Linked DNA regions of Homo sapiens: all the other regions are linked to region 1. Evidence: promoter capture Hi-C in 16 types of primary human blood cells and fetal thymus (Javierre and others, 2016). All regions are on one chromosome and are shown on one strand. The core of a region is centred on a gene start or on the middle of the fragment in contact, and the rest is flanking DNA. Distances in the headings are between cores, read along the strand shown.

Evidence for each region. The method cuts DNA at HindIII sites, captures the fragments that hold promoters and counts their contacts. A CHiCAGO score of 5 or more calls a contact.
Region 2: a fragment that was not itself captured here is called in contact with the fragment with the promoter of LONP2 in region 1 in 1 of 17 cell types (total CD4 T cells); the score reaches 5.1 in total CD4 T cells.
Region 3: a fragment that was not itself captured here is called in contact with the fragment with the promoter of LONP2 in region 1 in 1 of 17 cell types (M2 macrophages); the score reaches 5.2 in M2 macrophages.
Region 4: a contact is called between a fragment that was not itself captured here and the fragment with the promoter of LONP2 in region 1, in 1 of 17 cell types (total B cells). The highest score is 5.5, in total B cells.
Region 5: a fragment that was not itself captured here is called in contact with the fragment with the promoter of LONP2 in region 1 in 4 of 17 cell types (non-activated CD4 T cells, naive CD8 T cells, total CD4 T cells and 1 more); the score reaches 6.9 in non-activated CD4 T cells.
Region 6: a contact is called between a fragment that was not itself captured here and the fragment with the promoter of LONP2 in region 1, in 3 of 17 cell types (naive CD8 T cells, total B cells and total CD4 T cells). The highest score is 6.2, in naive CD8 T cells.
Region 7: a fragment that was not itself captured here is called in contact with the fragment with the promoter of LONP2 in region 1 in 2 of 17 cell types (monocytes and total B cells); the score reaches 6.0 in monocytes.

What each region holds. Positions count from the first base shown.
Region 1 is chr16:48,242,782-48,245,716 of GRCh38, reverse strand. LONP2 (lon peptidase 2, peroxisomal) reads right to left here and starts at 1,417. Exons shown (of 15, transcript NM_031490.5): 1 at 1,096-1,417. The coding sequence starts at 1,328. The region is part of intron 1 of ABCC11 (ATP binding cassette subfamily C member 11); the gene reads left to right. RefSeq lists an enhancer at 1,392-1,481. The HindIII fragment of the contact is 24,694 bases long and covers 1-2,935 here.
Region 2 is chr16:46,701,001-46,703,935 of GRCh38, reverse strand. It overlaps MYLK3 (myosin light chain kinase 3), which reads left to right. Exons shown (of 13, transcript NM_182493.3): 13 at 1-1,654. Among named protein-coding and RNA genes, the nearest start is that of ORC6, 13 kb to the right of the region's middle. The HindIII fragment of the contact is 2,295 bases long and covers 289-2,583 here.
Region 3 is chr16:46,836,634-46,839,568 of GRCh38, reverse strand. No RefSeq gene overlaps it. Among named protein-coding and RNA genes, the nearest start is that of C16orf87, 6.9 kb to the right of the region's middle. The HindIII fragment of the contact is 1,661 bases long and covers 622-2,282 here.
Region 4 is chr16:46,938,290-46,941,224 of GRCh38, reverse strand. No RefSeq gene overlaps it. Among named protein-coding and RNA genes, the nearest start is that of DNAJA2, 34 kb to the left of the region's middle. The HindIII fragment of the contact is 1,765 bases long and covers 542-2,306 here.
Region 5 is chr16:46,955,270-46,958,204 of GRCh38, reverse strand. It overlaps DNAJA2 (DnaJ heat shock protein family (Hsp40) member A2), which reads left to right. Exons shown (of 9, transcript NM_005880.4): 9 at 985-2,843. The coding sequence ends at 1,176. Among named protein-coding and RNA genes, the nearest start is that of DNAJA2, 17 kb to the left of the region's middle. The HindIII fragment of the contact is 197 bases long and covers 1,357-1,553 here.
Region 6 is chr16:47,019,890-47,022,824 of GRCh38, reverse strand. No RefSeq gene overlaps it. Among named protein-coding and RNA genes, the nearest start is that of DNAJA2-DT, 48 kb to the right of the region's middle. The HindIII fragment of the contact is 4,553 bases long and covers 1-2,935 here.
Region 7 is chr16:47,120,925-47,123,859 of GRCh38, reverse strand. NETO2 (neuropilin and tolloid like 2) reads left to right here. Exons shown (of 9, transcript NM_018092.5): 5 at 948-992; 6 at 1,076-1,203. LOC124903806 (small nucleolar RNA U13) reads left to right here and starts at 2,839; the gene lies at 2,839-2,935. The HindIII fragment of the contact is 1,446 bases long and covers 845-2,290 here.

The DNA of each region.
Region 1 (2,935 bases), core at 168-2,667:
CAACATTTAATCCATATAAAATGTATTAATCAAAAAGTTTTTTCAAAATCTGGCGTGTATTGTACACTTACAGCACATTTAGGGTGACCAACCTCCTGGTTTCCCTGGGACGGAGGGGCTAAAACATAGGACTTTCAATGCTAAAACAGACAATCGCAGCAAACCAGGACAACTGGCAATTCTATCATCTCAATTTGACGAGCCACATGCACTACACAGTACTGGACAGCAAAGTCATCCATCATGCATGGTGCAAAGTGGAATATACACATTATTCAATTTATTCTTCATAACTTGCCTAAGAGATGGATGCTGTCAGTTTCCAAATTGCAGAATAAAAGAAATAGAGGTTAAAGCTCTCACCCAAAGTCACACCAATAGGGCGAGGGTACTGGGCAATATAGTAGTAAGCCTGGGGCCTAAGAAATGTTATGAGTGAAGGAGCAGAGGTGAGAAGCTAGGAAAGTTCCAGAAAGGGGGACCAGCGAAAATGTGAGCAGTAAAGGCCCTTTACAAAGGGAAACAGAAGGATTAGGGGGAGAAGGAGAAGGGTGGCAGGGAGTATAGAAGAAAGGCACCCACAAATAGTGCAGTTTAGGAATGAAACAGGAAAAGTTAAAACTCACGGAGCAGAGAATGCCTCAGCGGACAAAAATGATGGGTGACAGAAAAGGGGAGGCGGATAGGAGTAAAGGGCAGTGGGGAGAAAGGTGAAAAGCGAAGGCAAGTGAAGGCAGAGATCACCGGGGAGAAAGAAAGGGCCTGGAAAGTTAAAAGCACTGGCCTAGGAGGCTGAAGACCGAGGGCGAGGAATTGCGGAGAGGGGGAAGAGGATTCAAATTAAATTATCCAGAACGGTAGGGAACTGCGTAGTTTCACCAGGTGTCAGGCACTACTTCATGAACGATCTCATTCATGGTCATGGGGCAGGTATCTGACATCCCCATTTTGCAAGTGATAGCACCAGAGAGGCGGAACCGAGCCGCGAAGGCCGCCCCGAACTGAGCCTCGCGCTCAAGGCAGGCCGTGGCCTGGGCCCAGGTCCCCGGAGGAGGCCGCGCCGCCCGCCGCCGCCGCGGGGGCAGCCAGGCCTACCTGTGCAGCGGCGGCAGGTCCTGCGCGTCGCTGGCGGGGTCAGGCGTGTTGGGGATGACGCCCAGGATGGTGCTTTGCAGCGACGTGCCCTTCAGAAGGCGGCTCCGCACCAGCTGCAGGTTGCGGGCCGAGTCCACGCTGGTGCGCATGGTGGAGCCGGGCAGCAGGACGCCCTCGTGGGTGAGCAGCAGCGGGAGGCGACTGGGGATCTGGATGGGGCTCACTGATGACATGCTGGCAGCCTTTCGCACTGGGGGCTGTCAAAAAGAGCCAGACAGACAGCTGCCCCCGGCCTGCCCCGCAGTCACCAAACCTCAGACCCGCCTCCACGCCTCCGCTTCCGGCTACGCGCTACGGTCCGTCCCCGGGCCCAAAAGCCATGGCTTCGCGCTGCTCTCTAGGAGAGCCTCCCGGTAAGACTTGAGCGTCCTACCTATGCGGAAAGACGTGCACTCAAGCGTGCAGCGACCTTCGCCTCACTTACAGAGTATATTTGGAAGGATGATCTTATTTGAATTGTATATACTTGAAGTGTTTTTAACGTTTTCTTCGATTTTTTACATATACTTGAAGTGTTTTTAACTTTTGATTCGAACTAATTATTTATTTATTTATTTATTTATTTATTCTGAGACAGATTCTCGCTCTGTCGCGGAGGCTGGAGTGCAATGGCGCGATACCCACGGCTTGCAGCCTCTGCCTCCCGGGTTCAAGCGATTCTCCTGCCTCAGCCTCCCGAGTAGCTGGGATTACAGATGCCCGCCACCACACCCAGCTAATTGTTGTATTTTTAGTAGGGAGGGGATTTCACCATGTTGGCCAGGCTGGTCTTTAACTCCTGACCTCAAGCGATCCGTCCACCTCGGCCTCCCAAAGTGCTGGGATTACAGGCGTGAGCCAACGTGCCCGGCCCGAATTGATTTTAGATGTACAAAACTACAGCAGAGTTCCTATATACCTTTCACCCAGTTTCGTCTGTTATCATCTTACATAATCATAGTTCAATGATCAAAACCAGGAAATTAACATTATTATCGTTTAACCTATAGGCCTTACCCAAATTTTGCCAGTTTTCCCACTAATGTCCTTCATTGGATCTGGTCCAGGATCCAATATCCAGGATCCTGTTGTGAAATCTCCTAGGTGTTTTGTTATGAAATCTCCTAGGTGTTCTCTAATCTGTGGCAAGTCCTCAATTTTTTTTTTTTTTTTTTTTTTTTGAGACGGAGTCTCGCTCTGTCACCCAGGCTGGAGTGTAGTGGCGAGATCTCGGCTCACTGCAAGCTCCGCCTCCCGGGTTCATGCCATTCTCCTGCTTCAGCCTCCCGAGTAGCTGGGGACTACAGGCACCCGCAACCACGCCCGGCTAATTTTTTGTATTTTTAGTAGAGACGGGGTTTCGCCATGTTAGCCAGGATGGTCTCAATCTCCTGACCTCGTGATCTGCCCGCCTTGGCCTCCCAAAAGTGCTGGGATTACAGGCCTGAGCCACTGCGCCCGTCCAATTTTTTTTTTTTTTACAACCTTGATACTTTTATTTTTTTTCTGTTTTTAATTTAATTTTATTTTTTATTATAGTTTAAGTTCTAGGGTACATGTGCACAACGTACAGGTTTGTTACATATGTATACATGTGCCATGTTGGTTTGCTGCACTCACTAACTCGTCATTTACATTAGGTATATCTCCTAATGGTATCCCTTCCCCCCCACTCCCCACCACCCAACGACAGGCCCCTGAGTGTGATGTTCCCCACCCTGTGTCCAAGTGTTCTCATTGTTCAGTTGCCACCTATGAGTGAGAACTTGCAGTGTTTTGTTTTCGGTCTTTGCGATAGTTT
Region 2 (2,935 bases), core at 187-2,686, 1.5 Mb after region 1:
GTATTAAAATTAAATAAAATTAGAAATTCAGTTCTGCAGTTGCACTAGCCACATTTTAAGTGTTTAATAGCCACACGTGGTTAGTGGCATCTATATTGGACAGGGCAGATCTAGAGAGAATCCTGTATCTAACAATTTTAATTTTTTTCCCTTTATGCTGTTATTCCTTACCTAGAGAAACAATTTCCCTCCAAAGTTCCTTTGAGGGGTCTGTTTAGGCCAGGCCAACACAAGTGACCTATGTGGATTTTAGCATCCTTTTTTTGAAATTTGAGGTTTTATGAAGCTTGAGTTTTTCTGGATATTTTTAGTAATTTGCTGGTGTGTACTTAGCTCAAATACTTGATTGCAACTGTGTTGGGTCAACTATTTCTAATGGGACTTTTCCATTTGCATGTACAGTCACTGGAAACTGCTGGGCAGAGAAACTCTAAAAGGTAGTTGGGGCACACTTTTTCCACCTGTCAGATTGGTGAAGAATTGGTGAGGCTGTGGGGAAAATGGCATTCTCCCACTTTTGATGGATATGTATCCAAATAAAAGTCATTCCCATGCTTTCTTTCATCCAGAAATTTTATTTCTAGAAATTTATCCCTCCGTACTTGAACAATTGTATAGAGATTTATTCAAAATGATGTTTACTATAGCACTGTTGCTAATGGCCCAGTAAAAACAACCAACACATGCCTATTAGTTTGGTTTTAGTTAAATGAATTTTGCCACATCCATGTAGTGGAATACCTCACAGCTGTTATAGATAGATCTAGATATACTGAAAGCCATTTTTTCTTAAATTATAGAATGTATATATGGTATCATCCCATTTGTGAAGAGACATATGCTTATATGTGCATTAAAAAACCGTAGGATATGCAAGAAACTTAACAGTGGAGTGTGAAAAGTGGGTGATTGGGAGAGGGGGAATTCCACTTTTCATTTATCTTTCTGAACCTTTTGAATCTTTTTTTTTTTTTTTTTTACAATGAGCATGTATTCCTTTTTTTTTTTTTCTTTCCAAGATGGAGTCTCACTCTGTTGCCAGGCTGGAGTGCAGTGGCGCAATCTTGGCTTACTGCAACATCCACCTCCCGAGTTCAAGTGATTTCTCCTGCCTCAGCCTCCCAAGTAGCTGGGACTACAGGCATGCGCCACCACGCCCAGCTAATTTTTGTGTTTTTAGTAGAGATGGGCTTTCACCATGCTGGCCAGGATGGTCTCGATCTCTTGACCTCGTGATCTGCCCACCTCGGCCTCCCAAAGTGCTGGGATTACAGGTGTGAGCCACTGCGCCTGGCCCGCATGTATTACATTTATAATTAAAAATTCACAACTCAATGTCAAGTGTGAACCTTGTGTTGACCCTGATTTGAGCAAGCAATAAAAAGATATTTTTGAGACATTTAGATTATGAATTTCACATTTGATGATAGTTACTATTAATTTTGTGAGGTGTGATATTGGCAATGTGGTTAGATGACTTCAGAGAAAAAGGAAGGTATAGTTAAGCAAGTATGGCAACATCTAATAACTTGGGTCTAGGTGATGTGTATGGGTTTCATTATACTGTCCTCTTTACTGTTGTATGTATTTGAAAACATTCATGACAAAAAAACTTTTTAATCAGTTAAATAAACCATGAAGAACGGTTAAAGAAGTGAGCTTCCAAGAAGTGTTTATAATAACAGTACTGAAACACACGAATTCACTAACTAGTAAGCATCTGTATTAGTCAGGGTTCTCTAGATGGACAGAATAGGATATATATAGATATATGTAATATGTATATAGGTAATATGTATATATATGTAATATGTGTATATATATGTATATAAAGGGGAGTTTATTAAGTATTAACTTACATGATCACAAGGTCCCACAATAGGCTGTCTGCAAGCTGAAGAGCAAGGAGAGCGAGTCCGAGTTCCAAAACTGAAGAACCTGAAGTCCGACGTTCGAAGGCAGGAAGCATCCAGCACAGGACAAAGATGTAGGCTGGGAGGCTAGGCCAGTGTCTCCTTTTCACATTTTACTGCCTGCTTTATATTTGCTGGCAGCTGATTAGATTGTGTCCACCAGAATAAGGGTGGATATTTCCCAGCCCAGACTCATATGTTAATCTCTTTTGGCAGCACCCTCACAAACACACCCAGGATCAAACTTTGTATCCTTCAATCCAATCAAGTTGACACTCAGTATTAACCATCACGGCATTCATCACTGGGATTGTAATTGTGTTAGAAAACTGTAGAAAGGCTTCCTAGGAGGGCATTTGGACAAGACTGCTTTAAGGTAATTCCTCCACTCCCCAACTAATTTAAAAAATAACTAAGTACATATTATATTGCAAATAATAAAAATAATTACCATTACTTGCTTTCATGGCATAAAGAAAAAACAGACAATACTACTTATATTTATTCTCATATGCTATTTAAACAAGGCTCAGAAATTTTAGATTTATCAGAATCACATCTTAACAGGGTAATTTAAAAGTGAATGTGCCTGATTAACTCAAAATGGATTAAAGACCTAAATGTAAGAGCTTAAACCATTTAACTCTTAGAAGAAAACAAGGGAAAAGCTTCATGACATTGGATTTGGCAATGATTTCTTGGATATGATAGCAAGAGTACAGACCACAGAAGTAAACATAAATTGGACTATATCAAAATTAAAAGCTTCTGTGCATCAAAGGCCATAATCAACAGAGTGAAAAGGCAACCTAAGGAATGGGAGAAAATATTTACCTATCATATCTGATAAGGGTGAATATCTAGAATATATAAAGAGCTCCTACAACTCAACAACAAAAACCAAACAACCTGATTCAAAAAGGGGCATATTCGCTGTTTGTATATTTTCTTTAAAAAATGTCTATTCAAGTCCATGAAGAGATGCCCAACATCTTTCCCCTCATCATTAGGGAAAAGCAAAT
Region 3 (2,935 bases), core at 203-2,702, 1.4 Mb after region 1:
CTCACTGCAACCTCCACCTCCTGAGTTCAAGCAATTCTCCTGCCTCAGCCTCCCAAGTAGCTGGGATTACAGGCACGCACCACCATGCCTGGTTAATTTTTTGTATTTTTAGTAAAGACGGGGTTTTGCCATGTTGGCCAGGCTGGTCTCAGCCTCCCGGCCTCCCGAAGTGCTGGGATTACAGGTGTGAGCCACCACACCTGGCCGATTCTCCATGACTTCTGAGCCCATAAAAGCCTTGCAGCTTCCACCTTGGTCTCTGGAATACTTGTTATTAGAGCCCTAAACTGCCACATAAGAGGTTTGACTGTGTAAAAGGAGAGACCATACGGCAAGGCTCTAAGTCTATGTGGAGAGGGAGAGGAGCCCAGTTGATTCCAGTCTGCCAAGATATTGGGTATGTGAGTGAAGTCAGTCTGGCCAGGAGATCAGAGGCTGCCTTCCTCCATGCATGCGGTTTGTTTCTGGACACTCAACTCTATTCCACTGATCTGTATGTCTATCCTTCTGCTAGTATTGCACTTGCTTGTTATGTAGGTTTTTAGGTTTAAAATCTGGAAGTGTGAGTCTTTCAGGTTTGCTCTTCTTTTTCAAGATTGTTTCATTATTCTTTTTCAAGCTTGTTTGGGGAAAAAATTCAGAGTCCCTGTAATTTCTATATGAATTTTAGGATCGTTTTGTCAATTTCTGCAGAGAAACCAGCTGGATTTTTATAGGGATTGTGTTCATCAGCAGATCAATTTGGGGAATATTGCCATTTTAATATTAAGACCTCCAATCCAGGAACATGGGATATCTTATTTTTTTAATACATTAAAAAAACAAAACAAAACAAAACTAGAGACAGAGTCTAGCTATGTTGCCCAGGCTGGTCTCAACCTTCTGGGCTCAAGCAGTCTGCCCACCTTAGCCTCCCAAAGTGCTGGGATTACAGGCGTGAGCCACCACACCCAGCCAGGATATCTTTTCATGTATTTAGACCTTTAATTCCTTTCAACAGTGTCTTGTAGTTTTCAGAGTATAAGTTTTACACGTTTTTGTTTTACTCCTAAGTATTTTATTCTTTTTGATGATATTATAAATGGAATTAATTTCATTATCATATTGTTGAGTCCAAGTGTATAGAAATAGATTTGATATTTATATATTGTGTCCTACAACTTTGCTGAACTCATTTATTCATTCTAATAATAGGTTGACTTCTTAGGATTTTCTACATATAAGACAATGTCATCTGCAAATAGAGATAGTTTTGCTTCTTCCTTTTCAATCTAGATGCCTTATTTCATTTTCTTGTCTAACTGCCCTGGCCAGAACTTCCAGTACAATTTTGAGAGATCAACTTTTTTTTTTTTTTTTTCTGAAATGGGGTCTCGCTGCATTGTGCAGGCTGGTCGGAAACTCCTGGGCTCAAGCGATCCTCCTGCCTCAGCCTCCTGAGTAGCTGGAATTATGAGCATGTACCCAGCTTAGTGCCAACTTTTTTTTTTTTTTTTTTAGATGGAATCTCGCTCTGTCGCCAGGCTGGGGTGCAGGGGCGTGATCTTGGCTCACTGCAACCTCCGTCTCCCAAGTTTAAGCGATTCTCCTGCCTCAGTCTCCCAAGTAGATGGGACTACAGGCACGTGCCACCATTCCCAGCTAATTTTTGTATTTTTGGTAGAGACAGGGTTTCACCATGTTGGCCAGGCTGGTCTTGATCTCTTGACCTCATGATCCGCCTGCCTCAGCCTCCTAAAGGGCTGGGATTACAGGTGTGAGCCACCGTGCCTGGCCAAGTGCCAACTTTTAAAGACAAGGATTGGTCAATCAGATGTGCTAATTTTTCTAATATCTTCAGTATTTTAATGATCCTAATATTTTACTTTTTTTTTTTTTCCTGAGACTGAGCATTGCTCTGTCACCCAGGCTAGAGTGCAATGGTGTGATCTCGGCTCACTGCAACCTCTGTTTCCCAGGTTCAAGTGATTATCCTGCCTCAGCCTCCTGAGTAGCTGGGATTACAGGCATGTGCCACCACACCTGGCTAATTTTCGTATTTTTAGTAGAGACGGAGTTTCACCATGTTGGCTAGGCTGTTCTTGAACTCCTGCCCACCTTGGCCTCCCAAAGTGTTGGGATTATAGGCGTGAGCCACTGCACCCAGCCTACTTCTTTTCTAATTTGGATGCCTCTGATTTCTTTTTCTTGCCTAATTTCCTCTGGCTAGAACTTCTAATACTATGTGGAATAGAAGTGAAACCAGGCAACCTTGTCTTGTTCCTGATCTTAAGGGAAAAGCTTTCAGCCTTTCACTATTGAATATGATGTTGGCTGTGGGTCTTTCATATATGGCCTTTAACATGTTGAGGAAGTTTCCTTGTATTCCTAGTTGATTGAATATTTTTTCTTTTTGATTGTGATAAAATATACATAACATAAAATTTACCATTTTAGCCATTTAAAAATGTATAGTTTAGTGTCATTAAGTACGTTGGCATTGTTGTGCAATCATCACCAGCATCCATTGCCAGAACATTTTCATCATCCCATACTGAAACTCCATACCCATTAAACAATAATGTCCCCTTCCCTCCTTCCTCTAGGCCCTGACAACCACTGTTCTACTTTCAGTTTCTATGAATTTCATGACGCTAGGTCTCTCATCTAAGTAGAATCATACAATATTTGGTATTTTGTGTCTGAATTATTTCACTTAGCATCCTGTCTTTGAGGTTCATCCATGTTGTGGTGTCAGAATTTCCTTTTTATGGCTAAATAATATTTTGTTGTATGCACAGTCATGAGTCACTTAACGATGGGGAAATGTTCTGAGAAAGGTGTCATTAGGTGAGTTCATCATTGTGTGAGCATCGTAGAGTGTACTTACACAAGCCTGGATGGTATGGCCTACTATACACCTAGGCTATGTGGTGTAGCCTATTGCTCCTAGGCT
Region 4 (2,935 bases), core at 175-2,674, 1.3 Mb after region 1:
ACGCCTGGCTAATTTTTGCATTTTTAGTAGAAACAGGGTTTCATCATATCGGCCAGGCTGGTCTCAAACTCCTGACCTCGCGATCCACCCGCCTTGGCCTCCCAAAGTGCTAGTATGACAGGCGTGAGCCACCGAGCCCAGCCAATTTGTGCCTTTTTATCCTAAAAAATATTTCCATGTCTCTGGCTGGGCATGGTGGCTCACGCCTATAATCCCAGCACTTTGGGAGGCCAAGGCAGGTGGGTCTCTCGAGGTCAGGAGTTCAAGACCAGCCTGGCCAACATGGTGAAACCCCATCTCTACTAAAAATATAAAAATTAACCAGACATGGTGGCTCACACCTGTAATCCCAGCTACTTGGGAGGCTGAAACAGAAGAATCACTTGAACCCAGGCAGCAGAAGTTGCAGTGAGCTGAGATGGTGCCACTGCATTCCAGCCTGGGCGACAGAGTGATTCTGTCTCAAAAAAAAAAAAAAGAAAGAAATATTTGTGGATCTCAAAGTTGCAAAGATATTCTCTTAGGTTTTCCTCTAGAAGCTTTACAATTTTAGCTCTTAAATTTTAGGTCTGCAATCCATCTAAAATATAGCATATATAGAGGTAGGCATTGAGGCTTATTTTTTCCCCATATGGATGCTTTAGCATCCAAGTGTTTTAGCGCCATTTATTGAAGAGACTTTCCTTCTCCATTGTGTTTACTTTGGCATACTCGTCAACATAAGTGTGTGAAAGATATATGCGTGTGTGTGATTGCATGCAACACATGTATGTGGTCTATTTTATGCCAAAGTGATAAATGCATGGGAGTCTATTTCTGGACTCTATTCTGTTCCATTATTTGTCTGCCCTTTCAGCAGTACCAGACTGTCTTGATTACTATGGTTTTATTTATTTTATTTTTGAGACAGGGTCTCACTCTGTCGCCCAGGCTGGAGTGCTGTAGCACAATCTCAGCTCATTGCAGCCTCTGCCTCCCAGACTAAAGTGATCCTCTCACCTCAGTCTCCCAAGTAGCTGGGGCTACAGGCGCATGCTACCACACCTGGCTAATTTTTCTGTCTTTTGTAGAGACGGGGGTTTCGCTATGTTGCCCAGGCTGGTCTCAAACTCCTGGGCTCAAAGGATTCACCAGCCTTGGCGTTCCAAAGTGCTGGGGTTACAGGCATGACCCACCAAGCCTGGCTGATGATTACTATAGTTTTAGAACAGGCATATGTTTTTTTGTTTGTTTGTTTGTTTTTGTTTTTGAGACACAGTCTTGCTGTGTCACCCAGGCTGGAGTGCAGTGGCATGATCTCAGCTCACTGCAACCTCCGCCCCTAGGTTCAAGTGATTCTCGCGCCTCAGCCTCCCAAGTAGCTGAGATTACAAGCACCCACCACCACGCCTGGCTAATTTTCGTACTTTTAGTAGAGACAGACTTTTGCCATGTTGTCCAGACTGGTCTCAAACTTCTGACCTCAGGTGATCAACTCACCTTGGCCTCCCAAAGTGCTGGAATTACAGCAATGAGCCACCGCACCTGGCCTAGAACAGGCATATGTATATTGAATGCTGATGATACCAAAATGCTCTCTCAAAAAGTTGTATAAATTTGGCCGGGCATGGTGGCTCACATCTGTAATCCCAGCACTTTGGGAGGCCAAGGTGTGTGGATCACCTGAGGTCAGGAGTTCGTGACCAGCCTTGCCAACATGATGAAACCCCGTAAATTAGCCAGGTGTGGTGGTGGGCACCTGTAATCCCAGCTACTTGGGAGGATGAGGCAGGAGAACCGCTTGAACCTGGGAGGTGGAGGCTGCAGTACCTGGGAGGTGGAGGTTGCAGTGAGCCAAGACTGAGCCATCACACTCCAGCCTGGCCAACAAGAGTGAAACTGTCTCAAAAAAAAAAAAAAAAAGTTGTATAAAGTCACACCACTGCTAACAGTGTATCAGTGTTGGCTTCCCCTCTCTTACCAGCATGGGGTATTATCAACCTTATAAATCATGGGATCAGGTCTTAGTCACTGCTGTGTCCCCATCACTTAACCCTGTGCCTGGTGCACAGCTGCTAAGCCAGTGTTTGATGAATGAATAACATGAGGCTTTAGCATATCTATAAATATGCCAACACTCATTCAGATGCCCTGGTAGGTAACAAAGATAAGGCCATTAAATTAAACTCCAGGCAGCCAGGTGCAGTGGTTCACGTGCCCAGCCGCTCACACTTATATACCATATTTCCTTGAATGAGTGGGGTTTTGACACCCAATGTATTTCATGATGCTGGCCCGAAAGACTGGGGGCATTTTGCTTTAAAGCTTTAGTTTAGAAATGGCAAACAGCAGCTTAACTTAACCATAAAAGGACAAAGCCCCACAAAGGTCTTTTGGGGGAGGACTTTACCTTGTGTAAATGCCAAGGAGTCCAAATGGTCCTAGTTCCTAACTGGAGCCAACATGTCAATATAGATCTGCACCAAAAACAAATGTCCATGGCACCAGTCTTCATTAGGTAGGCCCAATTAATTTATTTTTGGGTTTCTTTTTTCATTTGGTTTAAAGATGTGGTCTTGCTCTGTTACCCAGGCTAGAGTACAGTGGTGTGATCATAGCTTACTGCAGACTTCAACTCTTGGGCTCAAACCATCTTCCTGCCTCAGGAAGTAGTCTCGGGTAGCTAGGACTACAAGTATGCACCACCATGCCCGGCTAATTATTTTATTTTTGTAGAGACTTGGTCTCACTATGTTGCCCAGTCTTGTCTCAAACTCCTGGCCTCGAGTGATCCTCCCACCTCAGTCACCCAAAGCATTGAGATTACAGGCATGAGCCACTGCGTATGGCCAGTAGGTTCAATTTAAGAACACGATTTTTGCTATTATAGTGTAACTGGATCCAATGCACTTTTCATTTCAGGAACTGTGTCCAAAAAAAAAAAAGGCAGACCGGG
Region 5 (2,935 bases), core at 206-2,705, 1.3 Mb after region 1:
GGCTTGCTACGGGTGTGTACCACCACACCTGGCTAATGCTTTTTAAAACTTTTTATAGAGATGTTGCTATGTTGTCCAGACTGGTCTCAAGCAATCCTCCTGCCTCCCGAAGTTCTGGGATTGCAGTCGTGAGCCACTGCACCCAGCCGACTTCAAGTTTCTTAATAGTCATGTTACTTTCAATTTTAAAGTATATTTGTGTGATTGGTAGGCTTTCCTAGTTGTTAGGAAATGGGGTATTGCTGGTGTAAATGTTGATGGGGCCAAGCAGGGAATTGTAGAGGAGTAAAGTAGACCCGGTGTGGGTGGTGATGAGGAGTAGCACTCCCTGGAGAGAACAGGTTCCTCATTTGCAGAGGGCAGGACCACTACCCCTTTATCGTAAGCTGGTGTCCATGCCGGATGCAGGAAGGTGTGTCTCCTGTAGAAACTTTCTAATGTTTAAGTATTGGCAGATAATGACCTTTTTTTTGGTTCTTAAAGCAATAGATGGGTTGCACAAAAGATGTCTGCAGAATTTGGCCTGTGAGTGATGAGTTTGTGATCTTTTACTTAGAGTTCAAAGTCCAGTCCACATTCCTTTTTTTAACTTTTTTTTTTTTGAGATGGAGTCTTGCTCTGTCACCCAGGCTGGAGTGCAGTGGCACAATCTCAGCTTACTGCAACTTCCACCTCCCAGGTTCAAGCGATTCTCCTGCCTCAGCCTTCTGACTAGCTAGGATTACAGGTACCCACCACCATGCCTGGCTAATTTTTTGTATTTTTAGTAGAGACAAGGCTTCACCATGTTGTCCAGGCTGGTCTCATCTCCTGACCTCATTATCCGCCCGCCTCAGCCTTCCAAAGTGCTGGGTGGGATTATAAGCATGAACCACCACACCCAGCCCCTTTTTAAACTCTTAAACAGACACTGGATTCTATGTATCAAAAGGAAAGTTGATGAAAATATTACAACCAACCTGGTTTTTGTTTGTTTTAATAAAGGAACTAGAAGATCTTCTGCCATCTAGACCGGAAGTTCCTAACATAATTGGAGAAACAGAGGAGGTAGAGCTTCAGGAATTTGATAGCACTCGAGGCTCAGGAGGTGGTCAGAGGCGTGAAGCCTATAATGATAGCTCTGATGAAGAAAGCAGCAGCCATCATGGACCTGGAGTGCAGTGTGCCCATCAGTAAACTCTGCAAACAAATTGCACAGGTGGATTTTCTTTCCACATTTGCCTGATTTGTTCTCAGCAATCCAGCTGGAGTGTCTTATCAATCCAGATGAACTGAGGGACATCTGTTGGTCTATGTATAACTTTTAAAATTGGTATAGTATCTACAGAGTGTATAATTTAAACTAACCACAAAGCTTTACATCTTCATTTTGACTGTTCCATAGCAGAATAAAGCACTTGAAAGGAAACAAGACTCCCTTTCACACATGGATTATTATAAGTTTCAATCCTGGTATCTGTGCTTGATTTTTATCAGTTTTGTGTAGATTTTTATGTTTCATATTTTAAATTTAAATCCCACATTGTAAAGTTTGTACAATTTGTCCTGAAGCTTTGTGTTTGGCTGCACCTGCATAAGCTGCTACAAATAGAATAAAGAATTTCATAGCCTGTATCTATCATTTAGATGCATGGAAAAAAATGGGCTTTGCACACAATGGGTTTGGAGCTGACTGGGAACAATGGAAAAAATTACATTAGCTGTGGTTGTAAAGTTTTTTTGTTTTTGGTTTTGTTTTTTTTTTCTTTTTTCTTTTTTTTTTTTTTTACCATCTTGTGAAAGGTTTCTGAAACTCGATAATAAAAAGCGGTTGGTGTAAATTATTCTTTTGTGTCACATTTTTAGAAGGAAAAACATAAAAGAATGTATCCTTAGTACTGGTTCTTAAACAGCCCATAAAAACCCATTGGCCTGAAGCTTATATCTCAGGCCTATGCCCATCTTATAGTCTTGGAAGACAAAAGGCTGGTAGAGACAGTCTTCAGTGGCTTCAGTGATGCTCTGTAGAGGCCAGGGTGTCTTGAGTGCTGTAACTCCCAAGCACTGGGCTAGCCTGACTTCTGTATCTCCCTACCACCACCCCCTTAAAAAAATAAGGTAACAGCAAATCTATAGTAAAACCATGTCTGCATAGAACGTGTTCAAATCCTCTGTTTTCATTAAATGTAAAAGATGCTGTCTCCATTAAGTTGAATATTTGGAATTGGAGAAGCCATTGATTATTATTTTGAGTTTCTGTAATGTTTTATAGAAAAGTAAGATGCTTATTCAGAATTTAAGAATGAAGGCAACTGAAATATGCATTGTTGTAGTTATTTATATTTCAAACTAAAAATAAGCAAAAAAAAAAGGCTGGTTTGAGAAAAATCAGGTAAAATTGATGAAACGGATGTTGTGTTTCTCTTTCCATCATCTGGTTTTTACCATTTCACTCAGTAGGTATTTTTAGAACACACTTATTTGAGGAAAGAGACATCAGATGCACAATTTTACATTTATAAAGGAACAAATGGGGAAAACTGAAAACTAAAAATTTTAAATGTATTAAATGCCATCCCTGAGCCTAAATCTAGTATTTGTAGTTTATTTCTAGGTCTGCTAGAACCTGAAAACCTGAATGAAAAAAGGTGTGCTGACACTAATCAAGTCCTGTGAGGTTTAAATTATTGACCTATCCACTCTACCTCCATTGTACAAAAAATATTTTACAACAAGCCTGGGTAAGATTCAACAGCATAGTAGTTTTGTATCCAAGGTTACTTCCCCACAACCACTTTAAACATAAGAAATGTGGTGGCAATATAAAGTTTGTAGCCTTTCCAATAAAGGTTTATAAAACAGTTGTTCAGTGTAGTCTGTCTTTCATTTCTACCCAGGTGTTTTGACTGTAGGCAAGAAAACTACTGGAAGAGAGTTTCTGTTAAGGTGTGTTATT
Region 6 (2,935 bases), core at 128-2,627, 1.2 Mb after region 1:
AAAGGAACCAGGGCTCCTTGGAGAAATGGTTGATGCTAGAAGTAGAGCAAGGCAAATACAAGATAAGCCTGGAGCATCTTGCAATGCCAGAAAGTTTAAAAGAGCTTAAAAAACAAAAAAGATCGGGGCGTGTGGGCAGGTCACAGGGACCCCAGGGCCAACCGGAAAGAACTCCAACAGCCGAAGCTGGAATAATCTGAGCAACAAAATAATGATAGTACTGGACTATAACCTAAAATATAACATAAATACACTTGCGTCCATACACTGCGTCCCAGAAGATCATAATTTATTTATGACGGAAAAGATTAATAAATAGAAGAGACAAATCTTCCTCGAAGAAGAATGCATGTTGATGCTCCCCGCCAGGAAGTGGAGCTTAACCTCCATCTCACCCTATATGGGCCACACCTAGTATTTTCCTTCTTTTTTAAAAAAATAATTTTAAAATAGGCCAGGTACAGTAGCTCATACCTGTAATCCCAGCACTTTGGGAGGACAAGGCAGGTAGATCACTTGAGGTCAGGAGTTCAAGACCAGCCTGGCCAACATGGTGAAACCTCATCTCTACAAAAATACAAAAATTAGTCAGGTGTGGTGGTGGGCGCCTGTAATCCCAGCTACTTAGGAGGCTGAGGCATGAGAATCGCTTGAACCAGGAGGTGGAGGTTACAGTGAGCCATGATCACACCACTGTACTCTAGCCTGGACAACAAACTGAGACCTTGTCTCAAAAAAAAAAAAAAAAATTGGCCGGACACGGTGGCTCACGCCTGTAATCCCAGCACTTTGGGAGGCTGAGGTGGGCGGATCACAAGGTCAGGAGTTCAAGACCAGCCTGGCCAACATAGTGAAACCCCGTCTGTACCAAAAAAGTACAAAAATTAGCTGGGTGTGGTGGCACGCACCTTTAGTACCAGCTACTCAGGAGGCTGAGGCAGGAGAATCTCCTGAACCCAGGAGGCAGAGGTTGCAGTAAGCTGAGACAGCACCATTGCATTCTAGCTTGGGAGACAGAGCAAGATGCTGTCTCAAAAAAAAAATTGTAAAACAAGAATTTTTTTTTTTTTACATAAATAGAGAGCCGGGCAGGGTGGTTCACGCCTGTAATCCCAGCACTTTGGGAGGCCAAGGCGAGTGGATCTCCTGAAGTCAGGAGTTCAGGACCAGCCTGGCCAACATGGTAAAATCCTGTCTCTACTAAAAATACAGAAATTAGCCAAGTGTGGTGACAGGCGCCTGTACTCCAAGCTACTCGGGAGGCTGAGGCAGGAGAATCACTTGAACCCGGGAGGCGGAGGTTGCAGCAAGCCGAGATCATGCCATTGCACTCCAGCCTGGGTGACAACAGCAAAACTGCGTCTCAAATAAATAAATAGAGATGGGGTTTAACCATTTTGCCCAGGCTGGTCTTGAATTCCTGGGCTCAAGTGATCCACCCACCTTGGCCTCCCAAAGTGTGGGATTACAGGCATGAGCCATCATGTCCAGCCTTCTAAATTTTATTATTGTTAATTTTTGTAAAGAGGAGGTCTTGCTATGTTGCCCAGGCTGATCTCAAACTCCTGGTCTCAAGTGATTCTCCTGCCTTGGCCTCCTAAAGAGCCAGGATTACAGGCGTGAGCGACTGCACCCAGCCTATTTTGTAATTTTAATGAGAAGAGCCATGTTATTCCTCTCAAATGGTTCAAGGTCACATGGTCCTAATGTTTGCTATTTACAATCCCATTGTCTTCTAGGCTTTGGCGCTTTATTCATTATTTTATTTTTAAAAAGCAGAACGTGGAATCTAGGATCCCTTATTTTTATCATTTCTTGAAGAACAACAAAAATGATTGTGAAGCAACTGCAAGTTTAAGGTATGCTAAAAAAGACTAATAATAATCCCAGCACTTTGGGAAGCCAAGGCGATGGATCATGAGGTCAGGAGTTCAAGACCAGCCTGGCCAACATAGTGAAACCACATCTCTACTAAAAATACAAAAATTAGCCAGGCGCAGTGGCAGGTGCCTGTAATCCCGGCTACTCAGGAGGCTTAGGCAGGAGAATTGCTTGAACCCAGGAGGCAGAGGTTGCAGTAAGCCAAGATCGCGCCACTGCACTCTAGCCTGTGCAACAGAAGACTCCCATCTCAAAAAAAAAAAAAAAAAAAAAAGACTAATAATAAAGGCCGGGCATGGTGGCTCACACTTGTAATCCCAGCACTTTGGGAGGCTGAGGAGGATGGATTGCTTGAGGTCAGGAGTTCAAGACTAGCCTGACCAACATGGTGAAACCCCATCTCTACTGAAAATACAAAATTAGCCAGGTGTGGTGGTGCATGCTTGTAATCCCAGCTACTCGGAGACTGAGGCAGGAGAATCGCTTGAACCTGGGAGGCAGAGGTTACAGTGAGCTGAGATTGTGCCACTGCACTCCAGCCTGGGCTACAGAGCAAGATTTTGTCTCAAAAACAAACAAACAAATGACTAATAATAAATCAATAGAACATTTGCTAATTTGCCAAGGCTTGTTTTAAATTAAGTGTAAATTATAAAGAAAAAATATCCTGGCCGAGTGCAATGGCGCATGCCTATAATCCCAGCACTTTGGGAGGCCAAGGCGGGCAGATCACAAGGTCAGGAGATCGAGACCATCCTGGCTAACCCGGTGAAACCCCATCTCTACTAAAAATACAAAAACAAAATTAGCAGGGTGTGGTAGCAGGTGCCTGTAGTCCCAGCTACTCAGGAGGCTGAGGTAAGAGAATGGCGTGAACCTGGGAGGTGGAGCTTGCAGTGAGCCAAGATCGCACCACTGCACTCCAGCCTGGGCAACAGAGTGAGACTCTATGTCAAAAAAAAAAAAAAAAAGAATAAAAAGAAAAAATATCATATCCCACCAATACCCTTGGAGGCATTTCCTCTGCATTTAGTGCCTGGAATGCATTCTGATT
Region 7 (2,935 bases), core at 318-2,817, 1.1 Mb after region 1:
TGAGCGTGGTGGCAGACACCTGTAATCCCAGCTACTCGGGAGGCTGAGGCAGGAGAATTGCTTGAACCCGGGAAGCAGAGGTTGCAGTGAGCCGAGATTGTGCCACTGTACTCCTGCCTGGGCAACAGTGTGAAACTCCATCTCAAAAATAAACAAAAATAAATAGATTTTCCAGAAATCTGAGACATTTTAGACAACCCAGCAATTTTTTTTATTCTGGCTGTTAGGTATATACACAGGTTCTATCTGAACTTTAAAATAATTTTTTAAAGATACCTGTGTTTATAATTTCTAAAACTTTATTTTTATTGTGGTAAAAAATATACATAACAAAATTTACCCTTTAACCTTTTTTTTTTTAAGACTCATTTTGTCACCTAGGCTGAAGGGCAATAGTGCTGTCTCTGCTGTCTGCAGCCTCAACCTCCTGGGCTCAAAAGATCCTCCCAGGTCAGCTTCCCAAGTAGCTGGCACTACAGGCATGAGCCACCATGCCTAGCTCTCTTTAACCATTTTTAAGTGTGTAATTCAGTGGCGTTAAGTACATTCACAGTATTATGCAACTATTACCACCATCCATTTAAGCCGAAGTTTAGAAGACAAATTGTAATATGATTCAGCAGAAAGGAACTTCATTCCTTTTTAAGGCCAAATAATATTCTGGTATATTGTATATGTGATGTTCCGTTTACCTGTTCAACTCTGACAGTTGATGTGAGTTTGCAAGTAGCATAAATAAATTATTCACTATGGAATCAAAAATATAAACGTGATTAAATAAATGTCAATCCTGTAAGCGAGCTCCTAAATGACCAATGATATGTAGTTTTCACCAATGAAAGCTTCTCTTACCTTGCTATGAAATGGAACGTTAGATGTAATGTAAGACATCGAGGATTAAAGTAACTATCTCAGTACCAATGACTTTCTTCTTTTTTCTGTTACAGATCCAGACTTTACTTACCTAGGAGGTATTTTAAATCCCATTCCAGGTTTAGTATATTACCACTTGTTCCTCTTGGCATTTTTGATTAGTCTTATGTTCCTTTGAACACCTTTCATGTATTCCTTCCAGATTGTCAGTTCGAGCTCTCGGGAGCTGATGGAATAGTGCGCTCTAGTCAGGTAGAACAAGAGGAGAAAACAAAACCAGGCCAAGCCGTTGATTGCATCTGGACCATTAAAGCCACTCCAAAAGCTAAGGTATTATTATGTATTGAGTCGCTTCAGAGAAGAACATCATGATAAGGCATGATTTGCAAAATGTGTAATTTTGGTTTGTGTAAATATTTATTGACTACATAAACTGATACTGCAACTTTTTAAAATGTATTTTATTTCACTTACTTTATTGGCATCTACTAAGATCCCAGCATTATTATAGTTAAATAAACTGAAATTTCTGAAATTCTTCAGGAATATTACATATATATTAAGATTCTCAATTATAAAAGATTAAGATTCTTAAGACCTGTCAGTTCCCAATTGGTGAGTGTGCATACTGATCAGTATGATTATAGATTCATTAACAGCTTTATGAGGAAGAAAATAGGCTACAAGAGGTGAAAATGTGTTCTCAAAAGTTACAGAGTTGGTCGTAGCAATCTAAAAGCGAAAACCCAAATGTGTCGAGTCTGTTCTTACCCTGCCATCCTCTGCTACTCATGGGGTGCTTTTATTGGAAAGAACTGCAGGGAAGGATGTTTTTAAATAACTCTGACAGATTGAGATTGGATACTTTTGCATTTAATGTATACTTCTAGGAATATCAACAGAGTTAAAATTATATTTAATGCGTATTATGTAAAAAGAGGGAAAAGAGGAGAGAGTGAGGGTGGGAAAACATACCTCTCAAGAATCATGAAAATCAGATTTAAAGATTGGGTAATATGATAGATAAGGTAACCTGAAAACCCATCTGCTAGAAGACACATGGAAACATTGGGTAAAATATGACAAATAATTATTTTAAAAGCATATGTGTAAGCTCCAGGAAGGAGAAAAAGAGGGTAATGCTTATGGATGAGAAATGAAGAGAGAGAACTGTAGATTAATAAACTGAAATTGATGTTACAGATGCCCCTGGCTGACTTTTATAACCTGTTACTGCACAGGGGTAGACATACTGGGAGCTTCCTTTTAATTCCCATACTGAGAAAAGAAGAGTCCTGGGGTTCACATGGCCTTTGTGAGACTCACATGAAGCTGGAGCCCTCAAAGGGAGGCAACTCACATGAAAGCATAGATTAGAAAAAATGTTTCACTACCACATGCTGATGACAAAGAAGCTTGTTTTTCTGGGTTTAGTCTCAGGGTGGGGTTGGAGGTGAGGCTGGGGTCCCCCCTAGCTTTATACTTAGAAACCCTGCCTTTATTAGGGTTTGAGAAATGAATTTACATTCCCTGCTCAACCCAGGAGTCATGAAGTCCAAAGACTGACAGAATGGTCCTGGGTGCATTAAACCTTTGAGTCACCTGGCAAAAATAAATCTAAAAGTCACCAAGAAAGCTGCAGGGTTGGCATGGATAAAACACTGCTGCAGGTCAGCTCACAGCCCGCAGATTCTAAAACCCCTATGCTCACAGCCCACCATGGGTACGAGTTCACCGACATAACACACAGGAAGGAGTTCCTTAGATCCCCAAGAATTTGAGTGTTTCACGTATCCTACAAGAAGGAAACAGAGATGAGAAAGAAAAATGACCACGTCCATTTTTAAAATAACCAAATAGGAGGTCTATAAGTTAAAAGTATGGCTATTAAAAGATGTGTCTGAGGAAATTACCCAGAGTGTATCGCTGGAAGAGGTGGCAGTTTATTGGGATTTTCCATAACTGATACTCTGTAGTGTGTAAGTCTGATGCCCGGATGTTGACGCACACATGTGACGTGCGCCTCCCTCCAGCCTTGTTACCATGTCGGCACATTGCCTAT